2 separate regions of the Homo sapiens genome follow, and region 2 is linked to region 1. The links are contacts of gene promoters, found by promoter capture Hi-C in human tissues and cell types (Jung and others, 2019). All regions are on one chromosome and are shown on one strand. Each heading gives the region's core, a stretch centred on a gene start or on the middle of the fragment in contact. The rest is flanking DNA. Distances are from core to core; before and after follow the strand shown. Region 1 holds the start of PPIL2 (peptidylprolyl isomerase like 2). Region 2 overlaps UBE2L3 (ubiquitin conjugating enzyme E2 L3).

The links. Contacts are between HindIII fragments. The study calls those that stand out against the background at their distance.
Region 2: a contact is called between a fragment that was not itself captured here and the fragment with the promoter of PPIL2 in region 1, in 10 of the 25 tissues and cell types used here (IMR-90 fibroblasts, aorta, heart left ventricle and 7 more).

The regions. Positions count from the first base shown.
Region 1 is chr22:21,663,727-21,670,609 of GRCh38, reverse strand. It overlaps PPIL2 (peptidylprolyl isomerase like 2), which reads right to left and starts at 4,598. Exons shown (of 20, transcript NM_014337.4): 1 at 4,479-4,598; 2 at 648-697; 3 at 1-44. The coding sequence starts at 4,510. RefSeq lists enhancers at 4,162-4,211, 4,282-4,521, 3,756-4,666. The HindIII fragment of the contact is 22,549 bases long and covers 950-6,883 here.
Region 2 is chr22:21,613,302-21,620,381 of GRCh38, reverse strand. The region is part of intron 3 of UBE2L3 (ubiquitin conjugating enzyme E2 L3); the gene reads right to left. Among named protein-coding and RNA genes, the nearest start is that of YDJC, 13 kb to the left of the region's middle. The HindIII fragment of the contact is 9,374 bases long and covers 1-6,233 here.

The sequences.
Region 1 (6,883 bases), core at 3,349-5,848:
GCAGTGGTCAAAAGGTAAACGACGAAAATTTGTTTGTGGGAGATCTGTTTAAAAATGAAATAAAAAACAGAAATCTTACTCTGTAAAGTATTTCATCTATGTGCACCTGCTAGCAATTCAGTTACAGCTTATGAAAAAGTTCATGCAAATTTTTAAGTACAGCAATTGCTGTGGATTAAAAACCTTTTAACAGATAAACCAAAACACTTGGGGTACATCAAAAAAGAACTTACTGGGAAAAGTGCATACTTTTTACTTCCATTAAAATTATGACAGTGCTCTTGTTATTGTAGTCTTGATAGTTTTGACAGCTGAAAATATTATCATTCTTTTTATTCCTTATAAACTTGATAGAGAAAAAACATTTAAATGTACATGTAATTTTGTATTTCATTTACTTATTTATTTTTTACTTAGCTCCCAGCATCGGGGAATATTTTAAATTACATTTTACAAAAATCACCACTAAGATGAAGCAGGTTCTTCTATCTTGAGTATATTTCTCTTTCATGAACTGTGTCCTCAGCCCATTCGTCTACCATAGTTTCCGTGTTCTTGTTGTCTATTTTTACAGCTCACTGTATCCTGAAGACACAGTTCCTTAATACCACTCCCCCAACGGGGAACAGAAAGACTGCATGCCTTACCTGGCTTCTTGCCACCATAAAAGTGAGTGTATTCAGCACAGGTAATGTACCTGAAGAAGAGAGGAAGATAATGCTACCACCACCACCTTTATAAAGAGGACGAAGTCTTTGGAAGTGAGTAATCTTTGCTTACTCAGCAAATGCTTACTAAATACCTACTATGGGGCGGGCACGGTGGCTAACGCCTGTAATCCCAACACTTTGGGAGCCCGAGGCAGGCGAATCACTAGAGGTCAGAAGTTTAAGACAAGCCTGGCCAACATGGTGAAACCACGTCTCTACTAAAAATACAAAAATTAGCTGGGCATGGTGGTGGGTGCCTGTAATCCCAGCTACTCGGGAGGCTGAAGCAGAGAATTGCTTGATCCCGGGAGGCGGAGGTTGCAGTCAGCCAAGATCACACCACTGTACTCCAGCCTGGGTGACAGAGTGAGACTCTGTCTCAAAAAAACAAACAAACAAAAAAACACCTACTATATGTCAGCCACACAGTGATAAACACAACAGACATGGAGACCAGGCACAGTGGCTCACACCTATAATCCCAACAGTTTGGGAGGCCAAGGCAGGAAGATTGCTTGAGTCCAGGCGTTGGAGAACAGCTGGGGCAACAAAGCGAGAATCTGTCTCTACAAGAAAATTTAAAACTTAGCCAGGTGTGACAGCTCACACCTGTGGTCCCAGCTACTCCAAAGACTAAGGCAGGAAGGCAGGTTGAGGCTGCAGTGAGCTGTGACAGCACCACTACACTCCAGCCTGGGGGACGGGGGAGACTCTGTCTCAAAAACAAACAAAACAAAAAACAAAAAAAACCGGCCGGGCAAGGTGGCTCACGCCTATAATCCCAGCACTTTGGGAGGCCAAGGCGGGCAGATCACGAGGTCAGGAGATGGAGACCATTCTGGCTAACACGGTGAAACCAGTCTCTACTAAAAAAAAAAAAAAAATAGAGGGCCAGGCACGGTGGCTCACACCTGTAATCCCAGCATTTTGGGAGGCCGAGGCGGGCGGATCACCAGGTCAGGAGATGGAGACCATCCTGGCTAACACAGTGAAACCCCGTCTCTACTGAAAATACAAAAAATTAGCCGGGCGTGGTGGCAGGCGCCTGTAGTCCCAGCTACTCGGGAGGCTGAGGCAGGAGAATGGCATGAACCCGGGAGGCGGAGCTTGCAGTGAGCGGAGACCATGCCACCGCACTCCAGCCTGGGCGACAGAGCGAGACTCCGTCTCAAAAAAAAAAAAAAATGGTATCTTATTGCCACAAAGAGTCTGTTTTGTCAATCTTATGATTTCTATTTCTTTATTTTTATTTATTTTATTTATTTTTTTTTTGAGACGGAGTCTTGCTCGCTGCCCAGGCTGGAGTGCAGTTGTGCAATGTCGGCTCACTGCAAGCTCCACCTCGTGAGTTCACGCCATTCTCCTGCCTCAGCCTCCCGAGTAGCTGGTACTACAGGCGCCTGCCACCACGCCCAGCTGATTTTTTTGTGTATTTTTAGTAGAGATGGGGTTTCACCGTGTTAGCCAGGATGGTCTCGATCTCCTGACCTGGTGATCCACCCGCCTCAGCCTCCCAAAGTGCTGGGATTACAGGTGTGAGCCACCGTGCCTGGCCCCTTATGATCTCTATTTCAACATTAATGCTGGTCAGTTGTTGTGTCTAAGCCACAAAAGGGAGGGGGATATAACAAGGCACAGCTGATCTCTATCCCATCATGGCCAGGAACTCAGTTTTAAGGTTTTCCTGGGGTTCTCTTGGCCACAAGGGTGTCTGCTTAGCCAGTGGGGGGACTTAGGGTTTTATTTTTAGTTTACAGGGAGGAGCAGGCTCAAGAGCTGAAAATCAAGAGTTCTGTTTAAGGCATATTAAATTCGAGATGTCTGGCCCGGCACGGTGGCTCACGCCTGTAATCCCAGCACTTTGGGAGGCAGAGGTAGGTCGATCACTCGACGTCAGGAGTTCGAGACCGGCCTGACCAACATAGTGAAAACCTGTCTCTACTAAAAATACAAAAATTAGCATGGGCATGGTGGCAGGCACCTATAATCCCAGCTACTGGGGAGGCTGAGGTGGGAGAATTGCTTGAATGTGGGAAGTAGAGGTTGCAGTGAGCCAAGACGGCACCATTGCACTCCAGCCTGGGCGACAGAGCAAGACTCCATCTCAAAAAAAAAAAAAAAAAAAAAAAAAAAATTTGAGATGTCTTTCAGTCCTCCAGTGGAGATATTAAGTAAGCCACTAACTACACAAGACTGGGGAAAGCAGCTTATAGATGACTGGGAAATTATATCACCCACAGAGAATGTTTATGGAAAAGAAACGTATGAGATCTGAGAGAAGGGAGGAGGGTCCAGAAAGGAGACTGGGAAAAGAAAGACCGCTGAAGTCGATGGAAAACAAAGAGCATGTGAAATCCCAGATACCAAAGAAGGGCTTCAGAAGGAGGGAGTGGTCAACAGTGGGACATACTGTTGAGAAGCCCAACAAAATGAGGACTGAGGCTGCCCAGACGCGGTGGCTCACGCCTGTAATCCCAGGACTTTGGGAGGCCGAGGCAGGTGGATCACCTGAGGTCAGGAGTTCGAGACCAGCCTGACCAACATGGAGAAACCCCTTCTCTACTAAAAATACAAAATTAGCTGGGCATGGTGGCGTATGCCTGTAATCCCAGCTACTCGGGAGGCTGAGGCAGGAAAATCTCTTGAAGCCGGGAAGCGGAGGTTGCGGTGAGCCAAGATCTCACCATTGCACTCTAGCTTGGGCAACAAGAGCGAAACTGCGTCTCAAAAAAAAAAAAAAAAAAAAATGAGGACTGAGGATTGAATACTATATTTAGCAACAAGAAGTCGCTGGGAACCTGAAAAGAGAGGCCGCTGAAGTCGAGAGAAAACAAAGAGCAGGTGAAATCCCAGATACCAAAGGAGGGCTTCAGAAAGAGGGAGTGGTCAACGGTGTGACATACTGTTGAGAAGCCCAACAGTTCTGGGGTCGAAATTCTGACTTGAGTGGTTTCAAGAGACTCAGAAAACAGCATGAAGCCACTAGTCTCTCACTTGTTCTTAAGAGAAACAACACGGCGGCAGCGGGAGGGGAACGTGGGACGTGGGGCACGGGGCACGGGTGGATTTTTAAATTTTATTTATTATTTTTGAGACAGCGTCTCGCTCTGTCGCCCAGGCTGGAGTGCAGTGACACGATCTCGGCTCACCGCAACCTCCGCCTCCCGGGTTCAAGCGATTCCCCTGCCTCAGCCTCCCAAATAGCTAGGATTACAGGCGCCCGTCACCACGCCCCGCTAATTTTTGTATTTTTAGTAGAGACGGGGTTTCACCGTATTAGCCAGGCTGGTCTTGAACTCCTGACCTCAGGTGATCCGCCCGCCTCGGCCTCCCAAAGTGCTGTGATTACAGGTGAGCCACTGCGCCCGACCTGGTTTGCTTTAAATTAGAAGGCTCTGCAGCACGTTTGCAGGCTGATAGGCATGAACCAGAACACAGCGAGACGTGAAGTACGGAAGAGGTAGAGACTACTCATTCAAGGGCGAAACTCGCGAACAGACGGGGGACGGTCCGGGCAGAACCAGAGTAAGGAAAACCGGGCTGCGCTCGAGCCCGCAGCTGACGTCATCGGAGCCGCGGCCCCGGGAGAGCGCGGCGGCCCGAGGGTCATTACCCTGACTGGAGACAGGGCGGCAGCTTCCGGGAGGAAGTGACCTTTGGGCTGTGCTCTGGGGAGTAGCTGAGAGGGAAGGCGAGCGGCGCGCAGTGCGGGACAGGCGGTTCACTGAGGCAGAGTGGAGCGCCGCTCCCGACTGCGGCTCAACTTACATTTTGTCCTTTTGGTGCTGTCGCTTCCCCATGGCGGAGCGGCGGCGGCGACTAGCGAGCACGAAAAAACAACGGCTGACAACTCAGACCATGGAGCCGCAGCCGAGTTCCGTGACCACTTCCGGGTTCCGCGGCGCGCCCCGGAAACGGGCGCCTGGCGTGCTGGGAATTGTGGTTCGCTAGCGCCAGGTGCTCATGCTCGGAAGGATCGCCTGCCCAGTATGGGGTCCTAGCTAGGTGTGCCATCTCCCGCAGGCGTCTTTTCGGGGCCGAGCTCCCTCAGCCTCGAAGCCCCATCTTCTTGAGGGGTCTGTCTGGACCGCCTTGTCTACCCCCCTAGCCACGGCTCAGGGCCATTCCCATACTGGGTTCTCAGGTCTTATTTATTTATTTTCGAGACAGGGTCTCGCTCTGTCGCCCAGGTTGGAGTGCAGTGGCACAATCACAGCTCACTACTGCCTCGACCTCCCAGGCTCAAGCGATTCTCCCACCTCAGCCTCCCGAGTAGCTACGGGCACGCACCACCACACCCGGCTAATTTGTTAATTTTTTGTAGAGACAGGCTCTTACAATGTTGCCCAGGCTGGTCTGGAGCTCTTGAGCTCAAGCAGTCCTCCCGCCTTGGCCTCCCAAAGTGCTGGGATTACAGGCCTGAGGCTTCGCGCCCGGCCAGCGCTCAGGTCTTTTTCAACGTCCTCCTAGAGCTTCAAGTCTCATGAGCCTCCACCCCATCCCTTCCCGCCTCCGTGGCAGATGCCTTCAAAGCCATGTACCACTCTCGTTCTACTCGCTCACTTCTCATTCTCTCTGCATATTCGGTCCCCACCGCCTCCAGGCCCCTCGGAGGCCCAGCAGCAGGTGGCCATCAAGCCTAGAGGTCCAAAGCCCTACCTGATCCCTTCCGTCTCTTCTGCCAGACCCTTCCCTTGGGTCAGATCAGTACCTTGGGCCCCTAGCTACACTCAGGCCCAGGGTAATCTTGCCTAGGCTCCTAATTTTAAATGCCATTTGTATCCCATGACTCCCAGTACTAAGTCACCAGCACTCCAGGTTCCTGATCTCCACTTGGGTAACCACTGATCTGAAATGTAACATGTCTGGATGGGCGTGGTGGCTCACGCCTGTAATCCCAGCACTTTGTGTGTGTGTGTGTGTGTGTGTGTGTGTGTGTGTTTAGTAGAGACGGGGTTTCACCATGTTAGCCAGGATGGTCTCGATCTCCTGACCTCCTGATTCGCCTGCCTTGGCCTTCCAAAGTTCCGGGATTACAGGCGTGAGCCACCACGCCCGGCCAATCCCAGCACTTTGAGAGGCTGAGGCAGGCGGATCACTTGAGGTCAGGAGTTCAAGACTAACCTGGCCAACATGGCAAAACCCCATCTCTACTAAAAATACAAAAAATTAGCCTGGTGTGGTGGCACACACCTGTAATTCCAGCTACTTGGGAGGCCGAGACAGTAGCTTGAACTGGGGAGGCAGAGGTTGCCGTGAGCCAAGATTAGGCCACTGCATCCCAGCCTGGGTGACAGAGTGACTCTGCCTAAAAAAATTAAATTAACATGTCTGGTCAAAGTAGAATTTTCTTTTTTTTTTTCTTTTTTTTTTTGACATGGAGTTTTGCTCTTGTTGCCCAGGCTGGAGTGCAATGGTGTGATCTTGGCTCACTGCAACCTCCGCCTCCCAGGTTCAAGCGATTCTCCTGCCTCAGTCTCCCAGGTAGCTGGGATTATTACAGGCATGCGCCACCACGCCTGGCTAATTTTGTATTTTTAGTAGAGAAGGGGTTTCTCCATGTTGGTCAGGCTGGTCTCGAACTCCCGACCTCAGGTGATCCTCCCGCCTCAGCCCTCCCAAAGTCCTGGGATTACATGCATGAGTCACCGCACCCGGCCATAAAGCAGAATTTTCAATCCTCCCTCTTCTCCCAGTCCCCACTCTGCTGAGCAGTACCACCATCCACCCAGTCACCGAAAGCCAGCTATCTTTGCCTTATTTCATGGCTGGCTTCTTATTCTCTAGGTTTTAACATAAGTGTCACCTCCCCAGAGAGACCTTCCCTAACCACCCACTTCCATGCATCTCCCATAAAGTCTGTCACAATTCCTCACAATTTGTAATCCTGTGTAATTCAGTCTGTGTCCCGGTTTACTGAGCACCCTCCCTGACACAACCACTGCCTCCATGACACACATACAGTGGATGGGATGTAGCTCCTTAAGGGCTGGAATCTTAGGCCCAGCATGGTGGCAGCACCTGTGATTCCAGCTACTTGGGAGGCTGTAGTGGAAGGATCACTTGAGGCCCAGGAGTTTGAGGCTGCAGTAAACTATGATCAAGCCACTGCACTCTAGCCTGGGCAACAGAGTGAGATCCTGTCTCTTTAAAAAAGGGCCGGGGTGTGGGGA
Region 2 (7,080 bases), core at 297-2,796, 47 kb after region 1:
ATACTTTACTGCACGGTACCCTCAAACTCCTGGGTGTAAATGATCCTCCTGCCTCAGCTTCCTGAGTAGCTGAGACTACAAGCACATGCCATCACGTCCAGCTAATTTTTTTTTTTAACCTAGGCTAGAGTACAGTGGTGCAATCACAGCTCACTGCAGTCTTATCTCCTGGGCTCAAACAATCCTCCCACCTTGGCCTTGAGAGTAGTTGGGATTACGGGTGTTAGCCACTGCTCCTGGCCTAGTTTTTTGTAGAGATGGGGTCTCACTATGTTGCCCAGGCTGGTCTCAAACTCCTGGGCTTGAGTGATCCTACCGCCTCATCCTCCCAAAAGTGCTAGGATGACAGGCATGAAGCCACTGCACCTGGTCAATTCCTTTATTAAGGGCTCATATTGTTCATTCAGCATTACAAGAAATGGATTAAAATGCAAATGCTAGCCAGGCAGATCACCTGAGGTCAGGAGCTCAAGACCAGCCTGGGCAACATGGTGAAACCCCGTCTCTACTAAAAATACAAAAATTAGCCAGGCATGGTGGCCCATGCCTAGAGTCCCAGCTACTCAGGAGGCTGAGGCAGGAGAATCGCTTGAACCCGGGAGACGGCAGTTGCAGTGAGCCGAGATCGTGCCACTGCACTCTAGCTTGGGCAACAGAGCGAGACTCTGTCTCAAAAGTAAATAAATAAAACAAAATGCTGATGCTGGCTGAGTCATATGCAAAGGCATAATCATTCAACAGCACACATTAAGTGAGGGCCACAGCACAAAGTACTCCTGGCCTGGTGTCCAAAACCCACCTGCCTAACCTCTGCTTTTTACTGTGCCTGGTGAGAATGGGAAAGAGAGGGCTCCTGTGACCACAGTGGGTAGAGGTGAAGCAGTGGGGCAGAGGCGAGGAGGGCATTGCGCATGCAATGCTGACAGGTTCCACGTTTGTTGGGGGTGGATGGGCAAGGAGGGTGGACTGTGAACAGCAAGCAGGGGCAAGGGGCCTGGAAAGCTCTCTGCAGGCCAGGGTGGCCTCTAATTCAGTCTCTAAGCCTCTTCAGGGGTAGGTGGTATCACCTCCCTGTACAAGCCACCTGTACCTCTAGAGGCAGCAGGCCCTGGAGGTATATTTTTATTTAATAAACATTTATTTATTTATTTAATAAACGAAGCCCACCCTTGGCTGACTGGCCACAGTGTATTTCAGTGCACACCACCCTCGGTGTGAGACTGCTCCCTTTTCCTGGCTGTTCTTGACTTCAGGGCTGGAAATTGAGCCACAGTCGCCTAAGAGCACAAATAGGTGGCTCCCCTTCCTTTCCCATGATTAGAAATGGCCCTGTAACAGGAGAATTACTACCGCATTAGCATTTTAGAAACCTCACTGGGCTAAGGACAGGCTGAGTACTTCGTTAGGGGCACGCTCAGGAGTTTTCACCTCACTCTCTGATATGAATACTTAGGCTCTCTACTTCTCACTATCATCACCTTGGTAACTAATGCAGAGGTTGGTGGCTCACACCTGTATTCCCAGCACTTTGGGAGGCCAAGGAGGAAGGATCACTTGAGGCCAGGAGTCTGAGACTGGCCTGGGCAACATAGCAAGACCTGGCCTCTACAAAAAATAAAAAATAAAATTAGCCGGTTGTGGTGGCACATGCCTGTAGTCCCAGCTCCTTGGGAGGCTGAGGTGGGATGATTGCTTGAGCCCACAATATTGAGGCTGTAGTGAGCTGTGATTGTGCCACTATACTCAGCCTGAGTGACACAGCAAGACCCTATCGCAAAAAAAAAATAATATATATATATATTTTTTGAGATGGAGTCTCGCTCTGTCGCCCAGGCTGAGTTAGTGGCACAATCACAGCTCACAATCTCGGCTCACTGCAAGCTCCGCCTCCCAGGCTCATGCCATTCTCCTGCCTCAGCCTCCCGGGTAGTGGGATTACAGGCACCTGCCACCATGCCCGGCTAATTTTCTGTAATTTTTTAGTAGAGACGGGGTTTCACCGTGTTAGCCAGGATGGTCTCGATCTCCTGACCTCGTGATCCACCTGCCTCCGCCTCCCAAAGTGCTGGATTACAGGCGTGAGCCACTGCACCTGGCAAAATAAAAATTTAAAGACCTATTTCTCAAAAGATGCCATTTGTCTATTTCGTTATTTTTTATAGTTTCACTAATTTGATCAAGTCTGAATTTTTTTTTTAATTGAGATGGCGTCTCACTCTGTCGCCCAGGCTGGAGTGCAGTGGCACAATCTCAGCTCACTGAAACCTCCACCTCCTGGGTTCAAGGGATTCTCCTGCCTCAACTTCCCCAGTAGCTGGGACTACAGGCATCCGCCACCACGCCTTGCTAATTCTTTGTAATTTTAGTAAAGATGGGGTTTCACCATGTTACCCAGGATGGTCTTGATCTCCTGACCTCATGATCCACCCATCTCATCCTCCCAAAGTGCTGGGATTACAGGCATGAGCCACCATGCCCGGCCTCAAGTCTGAGTATTTTTAAATTTACTTAGTAGTTCTGATAAGTATTTCATTCTTTCGCTGTTCCCCTGGGTGCATTTCTGGCTCCTTAGCTAAACTATAATAAACTTCAGCTGAGCTGAACTTATTTTGCTAGTAAGAACACCTGACAGATTGTCTGCTTTACAAATTACAACTGTGGCCCTCTATCAACATTTTTCATATATAGGACAGCATATTAAAATTATATTTTATAAAACATCCAGCCCTGGGTTCTTGGTCTCTTCCATGACCCAAATGCTCCTCAGAAGTACTTTTTTTTTCTGCAAAATGTAGGGGCTTAAAAACATACAACAGGCCGGGCGCAGCAGCTCACACTTGTAACCCTAGCACTTTGGGAAGCCGAAGTGGGCAGACTGTCTGAGCTCAGGAGTTCAAGACCAGCCTGGGCAATATGGTGAAACCTTGTCTCTACTAAAATACAAAAAACTAGCCAGGTGTGGTGGCATGCGCCTGTAGTCCCAGCTACTCGGGAGGCTGAGGGAGGAGAAATGCTTGAATCCAGGAGGCGGAGGTTGCAATGAGCCAAGATTATGCCACTGCACTCCAGCCTGGGTGACAAAGTGAGACTCTGTCCCCCCAACAAAAAACAAAAAACAAAAAACCCACACAACAAATTAGCCAATTTTACCTTTTACTCTCACTATATTCTCATCAGAGAATAAAGCCTATAATATTTCCTTCCTTTTGTTCCTTTTCTTTTTTTTTTTTTTTTTTTAAGACAGAGTTTCGCTCTGTTGCCCAGGCTGGAGTGCAGTGGCAGCAGCTGGGACTACAGGTGCCCGCAACCACGCCCGGCTAATTTTTGGTGTTTTTAGTAGAGACGGGGTTTCACCGTGTTAGCCAGGATGGTCTCGATCTCCTGACCTCGTGATCTGCCCGCCTCGGCCTCCCAAAGTGCTGGGATTACAGACATGAGCCACCGTGCCTGGCCCTTTTGTTCTTAATGACAGTTTCTCTGCAATAGCGGATGTAAACAATATTTGTGATTTCCCCTCCTTTTCATAAAAATCCAGGGAGCTTCATTGTCAAAGAATAAAATGTCAATGTACCTTCAACCCAAAAAGATATGCAATGTTGTAGCCTTCCATGGAATGTGCTTTAAAAAAAGGGGGGGGGTGTTTTGTTTTGTTTTTTTGCCCCCCAAGTAGCTGGGATTACAGGTGCCTGTCACCACGCCTGGCTAATTTTTTTTTTTTTTTTTGGAGATGGAGTCTCGCTCTCACTCTGTCACCCAGGCTGGAGTGCAGTAGCGTGATCTCAGCTCACTGCAACCTCCGCCTCTCGGGTTCAAGTGATTCTCCTGCCTCAGCTTCCTGAGTAGCTGGGACTACAGGTGCACGCCACCGTGCCCAGCTAATTTTTTTTGTATTTTTAGTAGGGACGGGGTTTCACCACGTTGGCCAGGATGGTCTGGATCTCTTGACCTTGTGATCCGCCCACCTCGGCCTCCCAAAGTGCTGGGATTACAGGCGTGACCCACCACGCCCAGCCTGGAACATTTTCATCCCCCAAAAAGAAAACCCACTCTCAGTAGTCACTTCCTATTCTCCTCCTCCTAGACCCTGACAATCACTAATCTACTTTGTCTCAATGGATCCACCCTAGTCTGAGCATCCCATATACAGCTGAATTTTATCTGTAGTGCTTATGTTCTATAAACTTGCCATGAACATTGAATTAATGATACTGAATCATTGCTCCTAAGGGAAACAGAGGTTTAGGTTCAAACAAGCCTCTGCTCACATTTTTGCCAGCTGATTAATATATAACTTTGTTTTATGTGTGTTTAAAGACACCTTATTTAATAGGTAATATTGACTCAGCAGCACTATAACTCATGCCCAAATAAAGCTTATCTCACACATGTATTTTCTCCAAAAGGCATATCATGACCTTCTGTGCTCAGGAATACTAGACAGCACTTCAGCACCACGTTTGGGGCCAAAGCAAAATCACCAACAAAAAGCACAAAATCCAAGAAGTTTGGCATTAGACAGCCCACTTGCTTCAGTTGAGAGCTGAAACAAGAAGGCAGGGCATCGCACTGTTCAACCACACAACCTCAGCTGGAACACGTGCATGGGGTACTTCAAATTTTTTGCTGCTCTGCACACGCACACATCTGTGATAGACGAGTGCCGAGAGTATTGATTTTGGGGCTACAAAAAACTTTAGTGAGTAGGCAAATTCGCAAACGCAGACTCTATGAACAATGAGGCTCAACTACAAATGGAATCATACAATATGTGGCCTTCCATGGATGGTTCTTTCATTTAGCATATTTTCTTTCTTTTTTTTTTTTTTTGAGACGGAGTCTTGCTCTGTCGCCCAGGCTGGAGTGCAGTGGCGTGATCTCGGCTCACTGCAATCTCCGCCTCCCAGGTTCACGCCATTCTCCTGCCTCAGCCTCCCGAGTAGCTGGGACTACAGGCGCCTGCCACCAAGCTCGGCTAATTTTTTTTATTTTTAGTAAAGACAGGGTTTCACCATGTTAGCCAGGATGGTCTCAATCTCCTGACCTTGTGATCTGCCCGCCTTGGCCTCCCAAAGTGCTGGGACTACAGGCGTGAGCCACCGCGCCCGGCCCATTTAGCATATTTTCAAGGTTTATGTACCATAAGACAGTACTTCATTGCTTTTTATGGCTAAATAATATTTCATTGTAGAGATACACCATTTTTTGTTGTTTGTTTTGTTTTGTTTTGAGACGGAGTTTGGCTCTTGTTGCCCAGGCTGGAGTGCAATGGCACAATCTTGGCTCACTGCAACCTCTGCCTCCCAGGTTCAAGTGATTCTCCAGCTTCAGCCTCCCATGTAGCTGGGATTACAGGCGCCCGCCACCACACCCAGCTAATTTTTTGTATTTTTAGTAGAGACAGGGTTTCACCATGTTGGCCAGGCTGGTCTTGAACTCCGGACCTCAGGTGATCCACCCGCCTCAGCCTCCCAAAGTGCTGGGATTACAGGCGTGAGCCACCACGCCTGGCTCACATTTTGTTTATTCACTCACCAATTGATGGACATTTGGGCTCTTTTCACTTCTTATCCATTGTGAATAATGGTGCTATGAACATCTGTGTACAAGTTTTTATTGGGCATATGTTTTCATTTCTCTTGGGTAGATATAGCTAAGAGTGGAATTGCTGGGTCATATGAGCATCTTTTCATATTACTATTTCTTCCATTATGCTTACTTTTCTGTACTTGTGGGTGGCTAAAGTCAGCTACAGGTTGTGAATTGAGGAGGTCAAAGAACTTCAAGGCTGGATCTGAGAGAAGCCATAATTGGGAACGCTGAAGTTTCTAAGGACAAGGGCAGGAGACAAAAATCATGAGCAGGTGCTCTGGAGACAAAGGAAGAGCGCTGGAAGATTACAGCAGGAGGGTGGCACAAGTGGCTTTTTCCCTTTCTTTCTTTCTTTTTTTTTTTTTGGTACAGACGGGGTTTCACCATGTTCCTCAGGCTGGTCTCAAACTCCTTGGCTCAAGCAATCTGCCTGCCCCAGCCTCCCAAAATGCTGGGATTACAGGCGTGAGCCACTGTGCCCGGCCTCAGGTGGCACTTTCACTTCCCATATTTAAGAAACAAATGAAGGAATGGTGAGGCATTTAAAAAGGCAGGCTTTGCAGGACAGTGGCAGCTGAACAGCAGTCAGGAAATAGCACCAGAAAAACAGGGACACCCAACATATGAAGAATCAGGCAGGTGGGAGAAGGAATGGCATGTCCAGAGGAGCTGCCATTTGGGAAAAGCAGGCCCAAGTGGGCCTGAGGAGGCAGCAAGGGGACTCAGCAACCTTGCCTGCCTGTCCCACCTCTGCCATCATGTCTCCCATCCTGCATACTCCTCCCATCAAGAGCTGAAGTCTATTTTCCCTCTCATTAAATCTGGACTTGCCTGACCAAAAGAATCCACAGAAGTGACACCGTACCAGTTCTATGCCTTCACCCTGGAACCCTGAGACCACCATGCTATGAAGGGGTCCAATGTAGCCTTGTGGAAAATAAGAGAACACAAAGAGAACCGAAGTGCCTTAGCTAATACCATTTCCGCACATGTGCACTATGCCTACCAGCTCTTCCCAGCCAAGTTGAGTTCCCACCTCAATACAGCTGCATGAGTGACCCCAGGAATGAACAGTCAGCTGTAGAACCATGTAGCTAAGCCCAGCCAACCTCCAGAGTAAAAACTAATAAACTGGTATTACTTTAAGCCACAAAGTTTTGATAGGGGTTATAATGCAGTAATAGATAACAAACATGGGAATGTGGCCGTCAAGTGCAAGGAACAACATTCTTGATGTATGTGAGGATGGGGATCAAGGCCATGCCACAAACAATCTACATAATAATGTTCTAGGAAGGAATCCTCAACTGTCCCAAATCACAAAATAGCAATTCCAGTTCTGTCCATCATGGCACACAGAATAGCTCCTGTACCAAAATTTTTACCTTAAAAATCCCAAGTCAACAGTACTTTTTACAAAAAAAAATTAAAAGCTGCCCCTAAGTTATTTGGCTCTTGGGGGTGGGGGAGAAGCAGCCACAGTCTGAAAAA